Linked DNA regions of Homo sapiens: region 1 is linked to region 2. Evidence: promoter capture Hi-C in 16 types of primary human blood cells and fetal thymus (Javierre and others, 2016). All regions are on one chromosome and are shown on one strand. The core of a region is centred on a gene start or on the middle of the fragment in contact, and the rest is flanking DNA. Distances in the headings are between cores, read along the strand shown. Region 1 holds the start of VAMP4 (vesicle associated membrane protein 4). Region 2 holds the start of CACYBP (calcyclin binding protein).

The links. The method cuts DNA at HindIII sites, captures the fragments that hold promoters and counts their contacts. A CHiCAGO score of 5 or more calls a contact.
Region 1: the fragment with the promoter of VAMP4 here is called in contact with the fragment with the promoter of CACYBP in region 2 in 2 of 17 cell types (activated CD4 T cells and total B cells); the score reaches 5.1 in activated CD4 T cells.

Annotation. Positions count from the first base shown.
Region 1 is chr1:171,738,257-171,743,435 of GRCh38, forward strand. It overlaps VAMP4 (vesicle associated membrane protein 4), which reads right to left and starts at 3,809. Exons shown (of 8, transcript NM_003762.5): 1 at 3,654-3,809; 2 at 93-207. The coding sequence starts at 158. The HindIII fragment of the contact is 4,907 bases long and covers 72-4,978 here.
Region 2 is chr1:174,998,653-175,003,893 of GRCh38, forward strand. It overlaps CACYBP (calcyclin binding protein), which reads left to right and starts at 1,295. Exons shown (of 6, transcript NM_014412.3): 1 at 1,295-1,543. The coding sequence starts at 1,529. LOC105371622 (a long non-coding RNA gene) reads right to left here and starts at 994. Exons shown (of 2, transcript NR_188647.1): 1 at 943-994. RefSeq lists enhancers at 416-625, 568-1,104, 656-1,165 and a silencer at 1,196-1,315. The HindIII fragment of the contact is 3,791 bases long and covers 1-1,883 here.

The DNA of each region.
Region 1 (5,179 bases), core at 2,559-5,058, 3.3 Mb before region 2:
CACGCCCGGATGGTTTTTCTTCTATTATTCACAAAGGGAATGAAAACATATTTTGAATCTTTTGTTTTTAAAGCTTAAGATTCCGAACTTACCCTTTCACTTTTCACAGAACCTGTGACATCATCATCATTGAGGTGGCGCTTAAACTTGGGAGGCATATTTTTTACTTGCAAAGTATCTTTTGCTTCTCAACAGGATAGTCACCACCTTAAAGAGAAAATAAATTTCATCAGATTTGAGACTTTGGGGCATAAGCTAATGTACTTAAAACAGTGTACATGAAACCCTGTATGACAGGGACTCCCTCATTTTTCTGACTTCAATTCCTGCCCTCTCACTTGTTCCACTCCAGTGACTGGGGCCTCCATGCTAGACCTCAACACCTAAGAAATAGTTAAAATTATGAGAAAATGGATGTAATTGCCCTAAGAGAACATGTGTAGGATATGAGTGATTTAAGATTTTTATAAAATGAAAGAGCAGAGAGTAGAGGGAGGACGTCTCACTGAGACATTAAATGCTTTACAATTTAAAGTTGGAGTCAGAAGACAGGAGAACATGCCTATTTCTCTCACTTTTAGTTGGTTGCTTAAGCAATGATTCAGTTTCCTCAGGTGTAAAATACTGATTTTCAGGCTTCTGCAGAGTTGGGACGGTCAAATTGGATAATACATGCAAAAATATTCTGCAAACTATAATGTCCCATTGGTACTCCATGAAAAGGGGTAAGTTTGGTAAGTACTGGTGTGATATCGTGATTTACAAAATATACTCATTTGGTCTTAATCCCCATTTCCTGACATATCCTTGGAATCGCTGCAGTGATGTGTCTTGTGTATGCTAATAAGATGACTGGTAGCTTAGCCCCCAGATAGATTCCAGATGGAGGCTGGTCACAGAAAAACCTAGGCATGATTAGAAGACTGGGACTTTACAGCCCCACCCCCTAGCTTCCTGGAAGGGGAGGAGGGCTCAAGGTTGAACTGATTTCTAATAGCCAATGATGTAATCAATCATGCCTACTAAGGAAGACTCCATAAAACCCAAAAAGGACAGGGTTCAGAGAGCTTCCCAAAAGCTGAACAAGTAGAGAGTTCCTGGACGGTGGCACACCTGGAGAGGGCACAGAAGCTCTGTACCCCTTGCCCTATGCACCTCTTCCATCTGGCTGTTGATCTCTATCCTTTATAATAAACCAGTAAACAAAGTGTTTCTCTTAATTCTGTAAGCCACTCTAGCAAATAAACTGAACACAAGGAAGGGATTGTGGGAACTCTGATTTATAGCCAGTCAGTTGGAAACACAGGTAAAACAACCTGGAACTTGTGATTGGCACCTGAAGTGGGGGGAATCTTGTAGGATTAAGCCCTCAACCTGCAGGATCTGATGCTATCTCTAGGTATACAGTATCAGAATTGAATTAGAGGACACCCAGCTGGAGAATCTGCTGCAGAATTTCCTCCTTGCTTGTGAGGAGAAATCTTTTGGGGGTCTGTGTTGAGAGAGAATAGGAGAAACTCAATTTTTTTCTATCAAAACAACTGGATTAAACAAAGCTAGTTTTCTTTGCTACAGAATGACTCACATCCTGTTATATGCTAATATGCATTGTGACTTTCCAGGAAAATGCTTGTGTATGCAACATACTAAAATTTTTTTTTGCGAAAAAGTTCTTCTATGCAAATAATGAATTTTCAGTATTTTTGACTAGATGGTAGATGAATACCCATCAATTCAGGATAGCTCAGAAATACTGAATGTTTTACTATGTGCTAGGCACGGTGCTCAGTGATACACATGCATTTTCTTTTACTCTTTATGATGCTTCTTTAAAGTAGGCACCAAGAAACTAGGAGAAAACTAAAGTTTAGTAACGATAACGTTAGTCACTACATTCATTGAAACAGCAGAGATACAGGCCTAAATTAATCAATGGCTGTGCATTATCAGTTTTAATCATTTGTTCAATTAGTTGCCCATCAGGTTTACAGAATTCTGTTCTAGAAAGACTCACTTCCTGCTAACAACCCAATAGTCCTGCTTCCTTTTCCATAAGAAGAAACACTTAGACCTTTAAATTAGGTATAGTTAGACATCAGTTTGTTTGTTAATGATATACACTTAAAAAAGAATAATCCCAGGATCTGGCTTCACGAACCAAATAAAAGTAATGTTTTAAGTCAGCTGCTTGTCAAAACCAAAGGACACACTTTTCTTTGATAAGAAATGCTTCCAAATCAGAAATTATTCACTTGTAACAAAAACCAAATTCTTGCTGCCTGAGTAACAGCTCTTGAGTTCTTGGTTCCACAATATTTCTGTCACATACATCTGGCCCTTTTATTCCTCATACTTTGATGTCAGAATACTTCATTCATGCAGAAATGTAACAGAATGCATGGAAAAACAGATGACAAGGCAAATTACTGAAGAACTTGTGCTTTTAACTATTATCTGTATTTAGATTTTAACCCCTGCAATGAGGCTGCCTCAACATCCCAAAGCAAACAACGGGCAGACTTATATAATGCCTTTATAAGACATACAGTAAAACTACAATCTTAAGGATGAGCAAACACCATATTCAGGTCTCTTAATCCCAAGAAACCATGTGCAACAAATAGCCCATCAGCAAAGCAGTAGGCAGATTAATTAGCTACCTTGATGAACTTTGATGTTATTTGCAACTGATTATTAGTAACTGATATGTGTATCAAACAACTAGTAGAAATAAATCATGCTCAGAAAGTAGACTAGGATATAGTCTGCCTAAGATTTCTCCTACAAAAAAAGACATGTGAATTCAGCTGTTTGTGACTAGGTATACATGTAAATAAGAGAGCCATCATGTACTTCCACATTGAGGATAGACCACCACTATACAATTCACTCAAATGAGTCACATCACCGTATGCTTCTTATACATCAGCATATACTTAAATGTCTATGTGTGCGTTTTTGTAAGTAGTACGTTATCTAGTCAATAGCTTTGAATCTGGGCAAAGGCTCTCCTTTTCCCAGCCTCCATTCTCTTTCTGATTCGTCTTCCTTGTCTGTCATCAGCCTTCTTGCTTGATGCAGTTTCACAGAAATAAAGTGACTTGGATGGACACAGACCGGAGATATTATTTGCAAAACCTGTCAAGTGTAACGATTCACCCCCACCTTCCGGTCATTATAAACACAGCAGGGTTGGCGCTCTTTCCCCCGGGCCCTTTAAATACACAATTTCAGGCAGCTCCGTTCACCCCCCACACCCAATCTGTCACACCAGGCCACGTCCCACGATATATCTGCTCCTAACGCTGGCCCTTCCTGCCCCATTGTACCCCCTGGAATTCCTCACTACATCCCACTCTTAACAAACCTTCCCCATCCATGGTACTGTTCTCTTCCCATCACCCCAGAGTACCCCTCAATTCCAATTCTTCTCTCCCTCAACTGCTCCTCGTCCGCATACCCCTGTCCTCGTCTTCCTTCCTCACGGCACCCCCGGCCCCAACCTTTTCCCACTCCGGGGTCCCTTCCTAGATCCCCGAGGCCCGCCGACCAGCCCGACTAGGACGTCGGGGGGCGGCAAGGCAGGGGCGTCTTCTTCGTTTCCTTCCTCCTCACACCAGCCCCTCCCGCTGCGAACAGGCCAGCGCCAGTACCTGAGGCTCCCGGGGAACTCCCGGCAGCTCTCCCGGGCTGGCGGTGCTGGGCGGGCGGGGGAAGGAGTAGGAAGCCGAGGTAAGAAGCTGGGAGGGGGAGACAGTTGGTGCGGACCCGGCGTCGGCCGCAGCGCCGCAGCAGCGCCTCCGCTCATCGAGCCGATCGGCGCTCGGCGGCCTGGCGCCAGGCGGAGGGGGCGGGTCCAGGGCACGGAGATAATCGAGGAAGTCGATCCGCCGAGCCCTATTCACCTAAAAGAGCCCGAACCCACACGCAGTTTAGATGCATCTCTCCAAATTTATGCTGTGCTTTAGGGGAGGAACAACCACTGGTTGTCCACGTTCCGGTCGTGATCCGGCGTGCGTGGAGGGCGATTAGGGGAGGAGTGGGAAACTTCCGAGAACCGCTCGGGACTGGGCGCCGCGCCGGAGTGCGTGGCTGGGGTGATGAGGCGTTAGAAAGAAGGTGGTGCTTGGTGGCACATCCGTCCCTCTGGCTGACTACGTTGAGTGGCAAGTGGAGAGTGGCTCGCAGCTCGAGGACCTGCTTCGGGTTCGTCTGGGGCCTTTTCTGAAGAAAGGAGATCTGTTTGATCCCCTGTTTACAGAATTAGAGCTAGACTTGGAAAGAGATGTTAAGGCCAGGCTCCTCCCTTTAGATAGGAGGAATATCTGGTTCAGAGAGGAGATTGACTTAAAGTTAACACGGCTAGTTTAGATAGATACGGGACGAGGGCTCGGTGTTCTTTTCCCGGTATCCCTTAGTTGTAACCTGAAAGCCTTCAGGAAATCGCCCTCGCCAGGCCATTCCGCCACTCTGCCCATTCCTTCCTCACTCCCTCCCCCTCCGCCCAATTTGGTATCATGTTTAGATCTCCACGCCCGCAGTAGCTGTCTACCAGAAACAATTCCTAATTTTGTTTTTCCGTTCTCTTATTTGTTTTATTATCCGTTCCTCCCACGCCCCAGCTGGATTATTTTACTCATTGAATCATATTCACTACACATCTTTTAAAATTAATACAGTATCTATGGGTCCTTTGTTGATACAGTATTTTAACTGTCTGAAATACTGTGCCAGGCACTTTCTAAAGACATAAAAATAAGAGGGGGTGTTCAAGAACAAGAGTAGACAAGAAAACAGCAGGAGGAAAGATCTGCGGACACTAAAGGAAAGGAAAGAATAGACACCCTCTTACCAAAAAGTTGTTCTTCTTTTGTTTGATGTTTATTTTTATGTAAAAATGTACTAACGAATTTGAAAGATGCCATGACTAAGGCAACGATGCTCCACTCTGATTCACTTGGAGTTGAATCACTTGGAAAGCTTTTAAAACTACGTAGGTGCCCACGTGCTACCTAGATTCTGATTTAAATGTTCTGAGATTTAGAAACAGCCGTTGAGTTGTCAGTTGAAGGTTCTGAAAGCTTAATGCTAAACTCAGTTGCCTGTGTTTATTCAGTCCAAGTTGCTGTCCAAGTCAGCAACTTGGACTGAAACGGCCCACTTAGAAGAGAAGCCTCTC
Region 2 (5,241 bases), core at 45-2,544:
CAAAAGCCCCCTGGTGGCTCTTTCATGTCATTGTCCTCCCCACTATGCTCATTAACACCATGGGCTAGTTTTTAAATGGAACCACGCAATATGAACTCTTCCATGTCTGGCTTCTTTCCCTCAACTTCATTTTTTTGTGTGAAATTCACGCATGTTGCGTTTCGGTAATTTATTTTTGTACTGTACTTCCGATTCTTTACTACAGATAATGGTCAGCCTCCATTCCGCTAACAGCTTTTTTTCCTCTCCGAGTTGCTGATTCTAATTGCTGCCTTGGACGATCTATAAAGCTGAGTGCGCGCTATGTGACCTCTCAGGGGTCGCTGCCTTGGACGATCTGTAAAGCTGAGTGCGCGCTATGTGACCTCTCAGGGGTTGTTTCCAACCGTGTTGTTGACATCTTGAGCCTGCCAAGGACTAGAATAATCTGAAAACTAGGCTTCTCTGGGGGTCTCACTGAGTGACAGGGTTAGAACCAGAAGAGAACATCGTCTCCAGAAGACATTTCACCATTTTCTTTGATGGTAAACAGGCTCACTTATACCGAATCCAAACCCAGGCGAGAACTACGGACTCTTGAAATGGTCGGTGAAAGGGGCGAAAGCACCAGGAAATCGTGCTTCAACAGTCCATGACTGAAAGGAGGGCCTGAAACTGTGGCCATAGGCGGGCCCTTTTGTTAGGGCCTTGACCTGGGCTTCCGCTACAGGGCCCGGTCACGAGGCCAACGTAGCTCCACCTCCTACGGCGGCCAGTGATGACGCCACCACGTCGGAACTGTTAGACCGCGGTGACGTCTCCACCGCGCCAAACTCACTGAAAATCAAACCGCTACCATTAGGAGCCCTCCACGCTTAACATATCCGTTCTTTCTCGTTTGAAAGTAACCAGGCTGCTCCTCCCCATTTTTCGCCTTCTTCTCGCGGAGGCTGAGAGACTAACCTTACACAACATGGCGGCCTGGTGTGTCTGGTGTCCTAGAGCGGACGAAAGCAGGTGACTCTCTAGTCAACTTCCGACTTGGACTCCGAAGATCGGTACGTTATTTCCGGGGCTGGGTTAACGCAGCGGTTCCGAGCTGCGACTGCGCAGCGTGGCCCAGCGCGGTCAAATTATAATACATAAAAGTTGTCAGGGCGGAGAGCAAGACATTACTCTTCTCGGATTGCCGGTTCGCTCGCGAGACTTGAGCGTTGCTAGGAGATTCGGCAGGCGGGCGGAGCCAGACTCGGCGGGGCGGGGAGGGGTGGGGCTAGGCTCGGCGAGGCGAGGAAGGGTGGGTGGAGCCAGGCTTGGCGGGCTGTGCGTGCTCGCGGTGGGCGGTGGCGGCGGCTGCCTCGCGAAGGTTCGAGATCCGTCGCGTGCGGGAGGCGGGCCGCGATCTTGCGCAGGGTCGGTGTGGGCGCAGGCTGCAGCGCCGCGACTCGTGCGGGTAGGCGTCTGCGCTCGGTTTGAGGGCTCGGCGCGGGGTTTCCTGTTCCTCCTTCTGCGCGGCTGCAGCTCGGGACTTCGGCCTGACCCAGCCCCCATGGCTTCAGAAGAGGTAAGTGGTCCGGCCCCATATTCCTTATGCCCCCCGGCTGGAGCTGCAGCGCCAGCCTCCCGCCCTACCGCCGTTTCCGTGGGCTGAGCCGCCCTGCGGCCACCCGGTCCCGCGCCAGTCAGTGCGCCGCCTTCCCGGGGGACACCTCACTCGCCCCTTGCTGCGCCGTCGGCTCCCCAGCGCTTCCACTCGACCTCGCACCCCACTCGCCTGCTGGGCTCGAGCGGGGGTGTGCGGCGATTATCCGTGCAGGCGGTGCGGGGAGTGGGTCTGGGAGAGCGGCCCTTTGCGCGTGTTCCTCAGGCCCTTTCTGCCCTGGTTTCCCAGCCAGTGGACAGGAAGCTTCATTCAAGCAAAGCTGGGTGCAAACATGAGTGTCGTTCTTGGTAGAGGGCGGTTGGAAGGTGAGTTCTCAGTGCTAGCACTTGAATTCTCCTAGTCAGGTTTTCTCTACACACGAGGAGCTGTGTTACTCTGGGCAAGTTGTTTAGCTTCTCTGTGTCGCAGTAGCATCCATTTCATAGGGTTGTTAAAAAATATGATTTCTAGGTGTTTAAGTCAGTGATTGGCAAACAGCAATCTGCTGTATGTGATTTTTAAAATAAATAACTTGGAAAGTTAGTTGTAATTAATAGTAAGAAAGCGAATGGCCTGTGTTAAAGCTCTGTAAACTCTGAACGTTGGAGAATTAAATTTTGTGGAGACTTAGTTTGCTCAGTTAGAAAATGGGAATGATAGTACTTGTATTGCTCATTTCCTGGCGTAAGTGGGAGGTGAAGACGGGACAGTTATTCACAGTTAAGTGTTGGGTGTGTATTAACTAGATTTGCTTTATGAAAACAAGTACTGGGGAGTCCCAAGCTTTTGTTTTGTTTTGTTTTTGTTTTTTAAACTCAAAATCTTTTCTTTAAATGAAGAAAAACTATGAGGTTTGTGTGTTCCAGTATTAATCTGGGTATCTTGTGACAAGTCTTTTAAGGTAGGTCTTGGGTACTATGTGCCCCTAGGAGATAACTTCACAGTCTTGCAGGTGGATAGCTCAGTGTTAGTCCTCTTGAAAGTAGAGATCGTTCTCAGTTTAGGCACTTAGAAATATACATTTGAGGGCACTTGATTTTTGTTTTGTTTGAGATAAAATTCAAGTTTTTAACCATTTTAAAGTGTACAATTCAGGTATTTGTTTTTTGTTTAAATATATTCACAGTGTAGTGCAGCCATCACCACTGTCTAGTTTCAGGACATTTTCATCACTCCAGAAAGAAACCATGTAGTGTGTTTTAAACAATTGCTTCCCATTCCTCCCTCAGCCCCTGACAACTACTCATCTTGTACTTTCTGTGAATTTGCCTATTGTAGGCATTTCATATAAATGGAGTCACGCTGTATGTGGCCTTTTGTTTTTTGGCTCCTTCAACTTAGCACTAACATTTTCAAGTTCATCCATGGTGTAGCGTGTATCAGTACACATGCTCTTTATGGCTAAATAATATTCTATTATATGCATGTGGCACATTGTGTTTATCCTTTCATCCGTTTATGGACATTTATTTCCACTTCTTTGTTTGAGACGGAGTCTCGCTCTGTCGCCCAGGCTGGAGTGCAATGGCGCAATCTCGGCTCACTGCAATCTCCGTCTCCCGGGTTCAAAGGATTCTCCTGCCTTAGCCTCCTGAGAAGCTGGGATTACAGGCGCGCGCCACCATGCCCGGCTAATTTTTGTATTTTTAGTAGCGACGGGGTTTCACCACGTTGGCCAGGCTGGTCTCGAACTCCTGATCTCAAGTGATCCGCCCGCCCGCCTCGGCCTCTGAAAGTGCTGGGATTACAGGTGTGAGCCATGGCGCCTGGCCTTATTTCCACTTCGTGACTAGCATAAATAATGCTGCTGCGAGTACTGTATCCAAGTTTTTTGTGTGGATGTGTTTTCAGTTCTCTGGGGTATATACCTAGGAGTGGAATTACTGGTTCATATGGTAACTTTCTGAGAAACTGTTAGACTGTTTCCAGAGTGGTTGCATCATATTCCTGTAAGAAATGTTTGAAGCTTCTGAAAGTTTCTCCACATCATTATCAACATTTGTTATTTTCTGGGGTGTTTTATTTTTCTTTTTCGGTTTATGATACCATCCTACTGGGTGTGAAGTGGCATCTTGGGAATTTGATATGCGTTTACCCAATGATGAAGATGTTGAGCATCTTTAATGTTCTTGGTGTCCATTTCTGTGTCTTTGGAGAAATGTGTGTTGAATTCCTTTGCCCATTTTTGAGGCACATTGGTGTTAATGCCTCCTAGTGAAAAATTAGGAAATAGGAAGATAAAGCTTGAATGCCTTATGGGTAGGGATAAAAGAGAAATAAAATTTTTATATACGTAAAACAAACACATGCCAAGAAGGCAAGGAAAATTACATGATAAATTAGATAGGAAACTAGGACATCTTAAAGTATTTGTGCAGAAAAAGCATCAAAGGAATCACCTTTGTTGGTTTCAAGTCTGCCAATAACAGAACTGAGGAACTGTCTCAGTTTTAAGTTTTTTCAGTGGATACTTCATAATAAAAAGAGTACTTTAGAGTCAAAACTGGCAATAAAGAGGGCTTGGGAATTCAGCCATTGGGGGAATCCCTTGCCTAATTCGAAGTACCTTTCTCATTCTGCTAGATAAAGTATTCCTATTTCAGTCAAAAAGCAAAACCTCTTGCTTAGACTTAATATATTTCATTTTACATTTCAATATTTTTATTATGAATTAGGAGTTGTAGAATCAGCGTTTTTTTGAAACCATTACAATAAAAATATTACTTTGAACTGAAACATTTTGGTTCTATGCTCAAAAGATGAGTTTGCAAGATTTTTTGTCATAGTAATATGAGCTGTTCTTGGAAGGGTCGAGAGTGTGGACAAGAGGGTTGGGCAGAGTTGATTTTTTTTTTTTTTTGGGAGACCGAGTTTTGCTCTTGTTGCCCGGGCTGGAGTGCAATGGCGCGATCTCGGGTCACTGCAACCTTTGCCTCCCGGGTTCAAGCGATTCTTCTGCCTCAGCTTCCCGAGTAGCTGGGATTACAGGCACGTGCCACCACACCCGGCAAATTTTTGAATTTTAAGTAGAGACGGGCTTTCGCCGTGTTGGTCATGTTGGTCTCGAACCCCTAACCTCAAGTGATCCACCCGCTTTGGCCTCCCAAAGTACTGGGATTACAGGTGTGAGCCACTGCACCTGGCCAGAGTTGAACTTTTTATACCATGTCATCTGTTATAGATAGGCAAAACTAGGGCATCTGAGTTAAATGAGATAACAAAAGACTTGTAGTAAAAGAAAAGAATTAGTTCTGTTATTGCATTTTATAAGACTATTAAGAAACAGGCTTTCAAACTCTGTTGTGCGTCTGATATTCTGAGTTATAAAGCACTAAAAGACTTTTTTAAATTGAGCTTTTGATATCAAGCTGTGACACAAGATTTTTTTGGTCAAGTTGGTAGTGTCAAGCCAGAGTGTAAAGTTATTGTAAGAAAAGTGAAACAGCTGTTTGGAAAGATCTTGTGTATTTGCAGTATGTCAGAGGGTAATTGGGGGAAAAAAAACTTAGGCTCAATAATTTTCTAACATTGTCTTTAACTCTTGAATTTCATAAAATGTTGCCTCTATCTCTAGAAAGTAGAAAGTAGTAGACTTTAATAGATGATGGATTGGCAAGAGA